3 separate regions of the Homo sapiens genome follow, and regions 2 and 3 are each linked to region 1. Evidence: promoter capture Hi-C in 16 types of primary human blood cells and fetal thymus (Javierre and others, 2016). All regions are on one chromosome and are shown on one strand. The core of a region is centred on a gene start or on the middle of the fragment in contact, and the rest is flanking DNA. Distances in the headings are between cores, read along the strand shown.

What was found. Contacts are between HindIII fragments. The CHiCAGO score rates a contact against its expected background, and 5 or more counts as called.
Region 2: a fragment that was not itself captured here is called in contact with the fragment with the promoter of ACTR6 in region 1 in 6 of 17 cell types (naive CD8 T cells, naive CD4 T cells, total CD4 T cells and 3 more); the score reaches 8.2 in naive CD8 T cells.
Region 3: a fragment that was not itself captured here is called in contact with the fragment with the promoter of ACTR6 in region 1 in 3 of 17 cell types (total CD4 T cells, total CD8 T cells and total B cells); the score reaches 6.1 in total CD4 T cells.

The regions. Positions count from the first base shown.
Region 1 is chr12:100,199,392-100,202,177 of GRCh38, reverse strand. It overlaps ACTR6 (actin related protein 6), which reads right to left and starts at 1,363. Exons shown (of 11, transcript NM_022496.5): 1 at 1,259-1,363. The coding sequence starts at 1,326. RefSeq lists enhancers at 1-255, 1,100-1,299, 1,273-1,567 and a silencer at 2,060-2,419. The HindIII fragment of the contact is 11,223 bases long and covers 1-2,786 here.
Region 2 is chr12:101,319,741-101,322,526 of GRCh38, reverse strand. It overlaps UTP20 (UTP20 small subunit processome component), which reads right to left. Exons shown (of 62, transcript NM_014503.3): 24 at 1,590-1,675; 25 at 898-1,023. Among named protein-coding and RNA genes, the nearest start is that of UTP20, 41 kb to the right of the region's middle. The HindIII fragment of the contact is 298 bases long and covers 1,279-1,576 here.
Region 3 is chr12:101,302,786-101,305,571 of GRCh38, reverse strand. All of the region lies in intron 15 of UTP20 (UTP20 small subunit processome component), which reads right to left. Among named protein-coding and RNA genes, the nearest start is that of UTP20, 24 kb to the right of the region's middle. The HindIII fragment of the contact is 8,224 bases long and covers 1-2,786 here.

The DNA.
Region 1 (2,786 bases), core at 114-2,613:
AGGCAGATCACGAGGTCAGGAATTCCAGACCAGCATGGCCAAAATGGTGAAACCCCCGTCTCTACTAAAAATACAAAACTTAGCCAGGCGTGGTGGTGCGCAACTGTAGTCCCAGCTACTTGGGAGGCTGAGGCATGAGAATGGCTTGAACCCGGGAGGCAGAGGTTGCAGCGAGCCGAGATCGTGCCACTGCACTCCAGCCTGGACAAGAGAGCCAGACTCCCTCTCCAAAAAAAAAAAAAAAAATTGCTTTGTCAGCTGGGTGTAGGGCTCACGCCCCTAATACCAGCACTTTGGGAGGCCAACGCGGGTAGACTGCTTGAGGCCAGGGGCTCGAGACCGGCCTGGCCAACATGATGAAACCCCGTCTCTAACAAAAATACAAAAAATTCGCTGGGAGTGGTGGTGCACGCCTATAATCCCAGCTACTCTGGAGGCTGAGGCGGGAGAATCACTTGAATTCAGGCTGCAGTGAGCTGAGATCGCACCACGGCACTCCAGCCTCGGTGACAATGATAATGATACACATTGCCAAAACGTTTTCCAGAAAGATTGTAACAATTTACATTCCTACTCAGTTTGATTTCCCTCTTTCATTTCTGTTTCAAAAGAAATGAAAAAGAAGGAAAGGAGGGAGGAAGGAAAGAATTTTTTTTAATGCTCTGTTAATTTGATAAAGGAAAGGCGTGTCTTTAGGTTTGCTTATTTATTCAAACATATATTTTATGACTATACATGTTATGAATGCCATTGTATTAACAGTACTTCTGTTTAATTGACCTTACCAACTAGGTCGGCCAGTAGGCCAAAGTCTTCAAAGCCTCTAGATCCTAAGACCGTGATTTTTAGACTTTTGGAGGGTCATAGAACCCTTTGAGAATCTAATGAAACCTATAATCTTGTACCCAGGAAAATCCGCATACACCCAAACACCGTGCCCATAGTTTCCAAAGGCTGATGAACTTTACGGACCCTTCTGTCAGGAACGCATCTCTATAAGCCTATTTTCTTTGGCTATTTCCTGTTACGAAATAAAACATATATCCCACTTCCGGGGCCTCGCAGCCCAAAACTAAAACCAAAATCAATTTCAATTCAAAGCATCACAATCACCCACCCAGCTCCAACCAGGGAATCCCTCTGGCTAAGTCAGGGCCGCGCGGGGGTGTCTGCAGTTCATTGATGTCCGGAGATGAAACGTAGCACATGAAACCACTAGGCGTATATATCTTGTCCCTCGGAGAAAGAAAGTACTTACGACACATTTTCATGGCTGTAACCGATTTTGGCGTTGTAAGCTCCATTATCCAGCACTAAGGTCGTCATCTCACCACCAACCACACCGCAGCCGTAGTTGTTTTCCCTTTCCGACCCCTCTGCTCGAGCTTTTTCCGGTACTCTATGGTTTGTTGGGCGGAGCGTTAGGACGCGCCTCTGGTCACCTTAGCAACGGAGGACGCCGGAAGTCGGAGATGCTAAGCAGCACCGAATGTTAGGGGCTGTGCTTCCAAACTTAACCTGTTTATGTGGTGGCGAGATTTGACTACTATGTGCTTTCTCGCTCATTTCGTATTTGTTTTTAACTACGCAGATTAATTCGCGCAAGTTTTTTCTAATCCTGTAGAGAACCGGCTGCGTGTGTGTGTGTGTGTGTGTGTGTGTGTGTGTCTTCCAATCGCATTCTTCAGACGGTGACATTCTTTGAAGAAAAAAGTGCAAAACTTGCTCTTGGACTCACATTCATACTCTCCTCTTCCCCAGCCCACTTGCTCTTCAGGACGAAGCTGAGTGAGTCTTTCTCATCCAAAAAAGGCTTTTGGGCCGGACGCGGTGGCTCACGCCTGTAATCCCAGCACTTTAGGAGACCAAGGCAAGCAGATCACTTGAGGTCAGGAGCTTGAGACCAGCCTGACCAACACGGCGAAACCCCGTCTCTATTAAAAATACAAAAAGTAGCCGGGCGAGGTGGCGGGCGCCTGTAATCCCAAGTACTCGGGAGGCTGAGGCGGGAGAATTGCTTGAACCGGGGAGGCGGAGGTTGCAGTGAGCCGAGATGGCTCCACTACACTCCAGCCTGGGCGACAGAGCGAGACTCCGGCAGGGCGGGGACTTGGCAGGTGCGGGAGGCAGGACCTGGCTTCCGGGGCGTCGCGGGGGCAACGGCCAGCGGGCGGGGGCAAGGGCCAGCGGGCTAGGACAACTGCCAACGGGCTTGGAGGGGGGCGTTCTACAAATTCCAGGCCACTTTGAGCGCCTGAGAGAGGAGCGGGGCGGCGGGAAGGGGGCACCGCGGGGGCAGGGAGCGCAGCAGCCGCAGCGCGAAGGCGCGGGGGCCGGGGAACAAACGGTTGGCGCGCAGGCAGCCATACCGGGGCCGGAACCCGGGCAGAGGAGGGCAGCGACGGCGATGGGGAGGCTGCAGAGCCCGGGGCGGGTACCGCGCGGGAACCAGCGCGACTGCGTGGCTACCGCAGCCGTCGGTTCGTGTTGGACGGGCGCCGCTGCTGCCTCTGCTACTTCAAGAACCCCCACGACCCGCTGCCCCTCGGCCACCTGGACATAGCAGAAGCCTGCTTCAGCTACCAGCGCGCCGACGAGGCGGCGGAGCAGCCTGCGCACTTCCAGGTGCGCAGCGCGGGAGCCGCCACGGTGCTTGAGGTGGGAACTCGCGCCCTGCAAGCGCCTGGGCCCTTCTGTCGGCGCTCCTTGCCTCCCCTGGGGGCCTGCCCCATCCACCCTCCTTTCTCCAAGGCCTCCTCGCACCCTGCCAACGTCGGCCTGCCTTT
Region 2 (2,786 bases), core at 178-2,677, 1.1 Mb before region 1:
ATTTAAGCTTCATTTTTCTTTATACCCAGCATATATAAACTTTGTATTATTTATGGATCATCTTTTTGCTCTACCATTTATAATTAAAGGAATAATAACATCATTAAATATCACATGATATTTGGAAAACAGAGTGAAATATTTCTACTGTATCTCAACAGTAAAATTTAGGAAAATATTAAATTTAATTATATTATTGTCACAATAATACTATGGTAAGATCTTCTTTATATTAGGGCCCAGGCGCAGTGGCTCACGCCTGTAATCCCAGCACTTTGGGAGGCAGAGGCGGGTGGATCGCCTGAGGTCAGGAGTTCAAGACCAGCCTGGCCAACATGGTGAAACTCTTTCTCTACTAAAAATACAAAAATTAGCCAGGCATGGTGGCGCACGCTTGTGATCCCAGCTACTCAGGAGGCTGAGGCACAAGAATAGCTTGAACCTGGGAGGGCGGAGGTTGCAGTGAGCTGAGATCACACCACTGCACTCCAGCCTGGGTGACAGAGCGAGACTCCCTCTAAAAAAAAAATAAATAAAGATCTTTCTTTATGTTAGGAACAAAATTTAGTCTCTATACCAATTTGGCTTCTCCCAAAGGTACAATTCAAAAAAAAAGCAGCTGGCGGTGATGGCTCACATTTGTAATCTTAGCACGTTGGGAGGCCAAGGTGGGAGCATCACTTGAGCCTGGGAGGTCTAGGCTGCAATGAGCTGTGATCATGCCACTGCACTCCAGCCTGGGTGACAGAGCAAGACCCCATCTCCAAAGAAAATGCAATCAAAAGAAAATAGAAAATGAAATATTCTATTACAGTTGTTGAAAGAACCATAATACTGTACTCACAATTGTGTTTGTTATTAACTTTTTAAAAATCAGTGTTTGAACAGCATAAATACCTCATCAGAATAGGAAATAGATCTGCTCGGTGGGCTGTTTTCACTACAGCATTATCTTCTGAAATGCTAAAATGCACTATCTCTTCCTTAAAGCTTCTGTCTTCAAGCAACCTTTGTAAGTTTTCCCTTTAAAAACAGAGAACAGCACAAATCACCACTTTATCAACAGTGCTTTTGAATAATGAAAGAGTGAAATATGTACACAGAGTAATAACTAAAATAAGGTATATAGTACATATTATGGTTGATATCCATAAAGGAAAATCCTCAAAAAAATCTCCTAAAATGACAGATTTGTACATTTCAAAAGGTATAACGGATTAGAAAAGATTAGATTCTGTCCATAACTCAGCTGTTTAAAAAAGCATGATACAAAAAGCTTTCCTCAGTTCTTAGAGTGACTTTGATTCTCTAAGTAACCACCAAGATTCTATGGCATTATATTAATAAGAAGAGGAAAATGACATAATATTTACAACACAGTTTTAAAATTAACATTCTCTATTTTAGTATCATGGAGAACAACCCAACAAATATACTACTCGTTTTCATTTCTTGCTTGGAAATACGATGACCTCAGAAAAAAGGGAAACTTTCTAGGCCTTTAATAAATTATTCTAGAAGAGGCTCTTAGGCAGAAATATAAAAATCAGCTGAAGAAATAACAGTTCTTTAAGCTTCAAGTAACTTACCTGTAAGGGAGGACATGAGGATGTTTATATGTCATTATGCAATCCAAGGTTATTTTTTGCACCATTTGATCTTGGTGTAGCAACAACTAAGAACAGTATTTTACAGAATTAATGAAGTCATATATACATATACCATAGGATAGCAATTTACTTGTGGTTATTTGCTAAATGAGATTTGAAAAATTCTAAATTTTTACACAAGACCTAAACCTGATTGCTAACAACAGCTTCACATTTTCCTGGAAGTAAAAAAAGATGAACAGAATATATGCAAAGTAAAAATGGAAACAAAACTCTCTGACACCTGCATCCCACAGTCATACCCTGGGGTCTACCAGCTTTTGGGTGAGGCCAATCCTCTCTCTCTTTCTCTTTTTTTTTTCAAACAGAGTCTTGCTCTGTTTTCCAGGCTGGAGTGCAGTGATACGATCTCGACTCACTGCAACCTCTGCCTCCTGGGTTCAAACGATTCTCCTGCCTCAGCCTCCCGAGAAGCTGGAACCACAGGCACCCACCACCACACTTGGCTAATTTTTTTGTTTTTGGTAGAGACGCAGTTTCACCATGTTACCCAGGCTGGTCTCGAACTCCTGAGCTCAGGTGATCTGTCCGCCTTGGCCTCCCAAAGTGCTAGGATTACAGGCGTGAGCTACTGTGTGCAGCCTGGTGAGGCCGATTCTCTATGTGAATCTGGATTTAAGCCAACTAGGCTGGTCATGTACTAAGGAAAATCTCTTATCCTATGAAGGTAATGATAGTCAATAAGATGCCAGAAGAAACATCCAAATGAAAAATGAAAATTTTGTTTCCCCAGATGGCTTAGAATTACATCCAATGCTTACTTCATTTCTGATATTAATTTTTTTCTGCAAGCTTATCTGAAATTCAGGGCCACGTAATTATGACTGCAATGGACTACAATAGATCCTGAAATCCCAGTCCTCTATGAAGTCTGACTAAACTAGAAGGGAAAAGTAGTCACTTGTTTTTTTGTATAAACCCTACTCCCTTCTAAAAGCTAATTTCCATGATATAATTCATGCTTTGCTATTCTCACTGTTGACACAGCCAATCAATGTTTAGTCACCCAAAATGCCTTCAAAATCAGCTAAGTTAGTGCTAAAACTGTTTCTCAAGATAACAGAAAATATGTCTATTAATTAAAAAAAAAAAGGCTTTAATACTTAAAATGTAGAC
Region 3 (2,786 bases), core at 162-2,661, 1.1 Mb before region 1:
ATATTAAATTTAATATTTAATATAATATATACATATATAATATTTATTAAGTGTTTGTCATGTGCCAGGCACCGAGCTAATGAGGATAGTAGAGAGGAGTAGTCTGACACACGAGCTCTGGGGTAGGGCAGCCCAGGGTTGAATCTGGCACCATTACTCATAAGCAGTGTAACCTCAGGCAAGTTGCTTAACCTCTTGGTACCATCCTTATGCAACAAATATTCATTGAGTACCTACTATGTACTGTGACTTTTCTAGATACTGTAGATATAGCAGTTAACAAAAGACAAAGTTCCTTTTCCTGGAACTTATATTCTAGTAGGGGAAAGTAGCCAATAAATAAGTACTATGACAGTGATGAGCGTCATGGAGAAAGGCTCCATGAAACCAGGTTTGGAGAAACCAGGTTCTGGAGAAAACCCTGGTTTTCTCCAGAAAACCAGGGGAAAAAGGCTTGACAAAGAGATTGACATGCAGGGAGTTGTGGGGAGACGGTGTGGAGGTGAAGAGAAGCACCATTTGATACAGGGGTGCTCCTAAAAAACGGAGACCAAAGGAAGTGAAAAAGTCAGCTAAAAGGGTATCTGAAAGAAAAGCATTCTAGGCAGAGGGAACTGCAATGCCAGTCTGAGGTGTGCTTGTCTGCAGGAACATCGAGGAGGCCATCTCAGCTGGAACTAACAAAGAGTGCCTGAAGATGTCAGAACTAGCCAGGAGTTAGCTCATACGGAGCCCCGAGGAACATGATGAGGATGCTGGATTTTATAGAGTGAGATGGGATACCTCTCGAGCAAGGTTTCTCTACAGTAGCACTACTGACATTTTGGGCCAGAGAACTCTTTGTGGTGGAGGGCAGTGCTGCCCACTGCAGGGGGCTCAGCAGCATCCCTGGCCTCCACCCACTAGATGCCAGTAACAGTGCTCTTTCCCCATGCTGTGACAGCTGGAAAGTCTCCAGGTTTGCTCCCAGTTGAGAAGCACTGTATTAGAGGGTGATGAGCAAAGGAGTGGCATGATCTGTCCTATACTTAGAAGCAGCAGGGCAAGAGCGGAAGAAAGGAGTTCAGACCAGGGCTTTCTTTTGAAACTTTAGTTCCTCCATCTATACTGATAACAGTACCCACACATCATGGAATTGTTGTGACACAATCAATGCAATTGTTTATTACTATTATTGCATGCATTGTATAACTTAATCTCTACAAGGTGAGATTTCTATTCCTTCCTTTTTTTCTTCACTACCCCTTTTTGAGAGATAATCAAGTTGAGGTTAACTAAGTCACCCAAGGCTACAGCTAGTAAGTGGTGGATTCAAGAGTCAAAACCAGGCAGTCTTGGCTGTGAAACCTAGGTGCTCATCAGTCTACTAGCATAGCAAAGAGAACAGAATCCTGCATCTACTCTGCAAGTTTATGCCCCTGCCCTCAAAACCAGAGCCACTCCTGTTGGACAACTCTGTGTCTCCAAGGCTTAGAGCCACCTGGCTGGGAGGCAAGCTGGCCTTCCCCAAGGGGAACATGGACCCCATTCTGTGCTATGTGTGTCTTTTGTTTCAATTTCTACAGCCACCTTCAATTGTTTATACCAAGGGTGAAAGTATGAGAAGTTTAAACAGAATGATTTTAAAAGGGAGACTATGTAATATGGTAAATGTGGTGATGTCAAAGAACTAATCCTCTCTACAGGAAGTTAATTTAAACCAATGCAATTAACCATGGAGAAATGCCAACTTCACCCAGATTTGGAAAGGCAAAGAGATTCCAGATTATTATAGTATTCCCCTACAGTCTCAACACAGCAGCCGGAGTGATTCTGTTTAGGTCAAAGTCATTCCACTGCCAAAAATCCTCCCATGGCCTCCCCTTTCATTCAGAGTAAAAGCCAAGGCCCTACGGTGACCTAAGGAGGTCTACTGCCTCCACCTCTCTGTCCTCTTCTCCTACAGCCCACTCTCGTGCTCTGCTCAGCCAAGATGACCTCTCCTTGCTGTTCAAGCCAGGCACCCACCACCCCCACAGAGCGTTGGCATTCATGTCGCCTCCAGGTCTGGAACCCAGGGAGCAGCCCAGACCGCAGGTATCCTCATGGCTTACGTCCCTCACTGCTTTCCGCCTTCTGCTTAAGTGTCTCCTCCTCAGTAAGTTCACCTTGATTTAAAACTGCTACCGCTCCCCTCACCTCTGGACTCTCCCTATCTCCTGACCCTGCTTTGTTTTTCTTCACAGCACTTAGCACCTCCTAACACGCTATATAGTTTACTTTTTATTCTGTTTAGTGCCTCTTCTGGCTAGAGCATTAGCTACAAGAAGGCAGGGAATTTTGTCTGTTTTATTCACTATGTTTCACAGTGCCTGGAACAGGGCTTGGCATGTGAGAAAAGCAAATGATTACCTACTGAACAAAGTGAATGAATAAATCTTTAAAACACTTGGAAATAAAATGGAGTAGACTTCAGGAAAAAGCAGCAAGGCTTGACCTTTAGAAAAGATATATTGTTGGCTCCTCTCAAATGGCTCTGTGCTGCTATCAAAATCAAAGGCTGGCTAAACTATACTTAAAAAGCAAACAAAGAAACCAAACCAACAAAAAAAAAGAAACTGGATTGTTTCAGTGTGTAGTAAAAAGACCACAGGGAAGTTTTCTGAAATGCTGATCACCTCAAGTTGAGGCCGAACAAGAGTGGGAATGTGCATGTTGGAACCACTAAAGAAGTTATAAAAGGTCAACATCATGCCACGTTACAGTTGGGAATGATCAGCATTACAAACCCTTCAAACTTTACGACA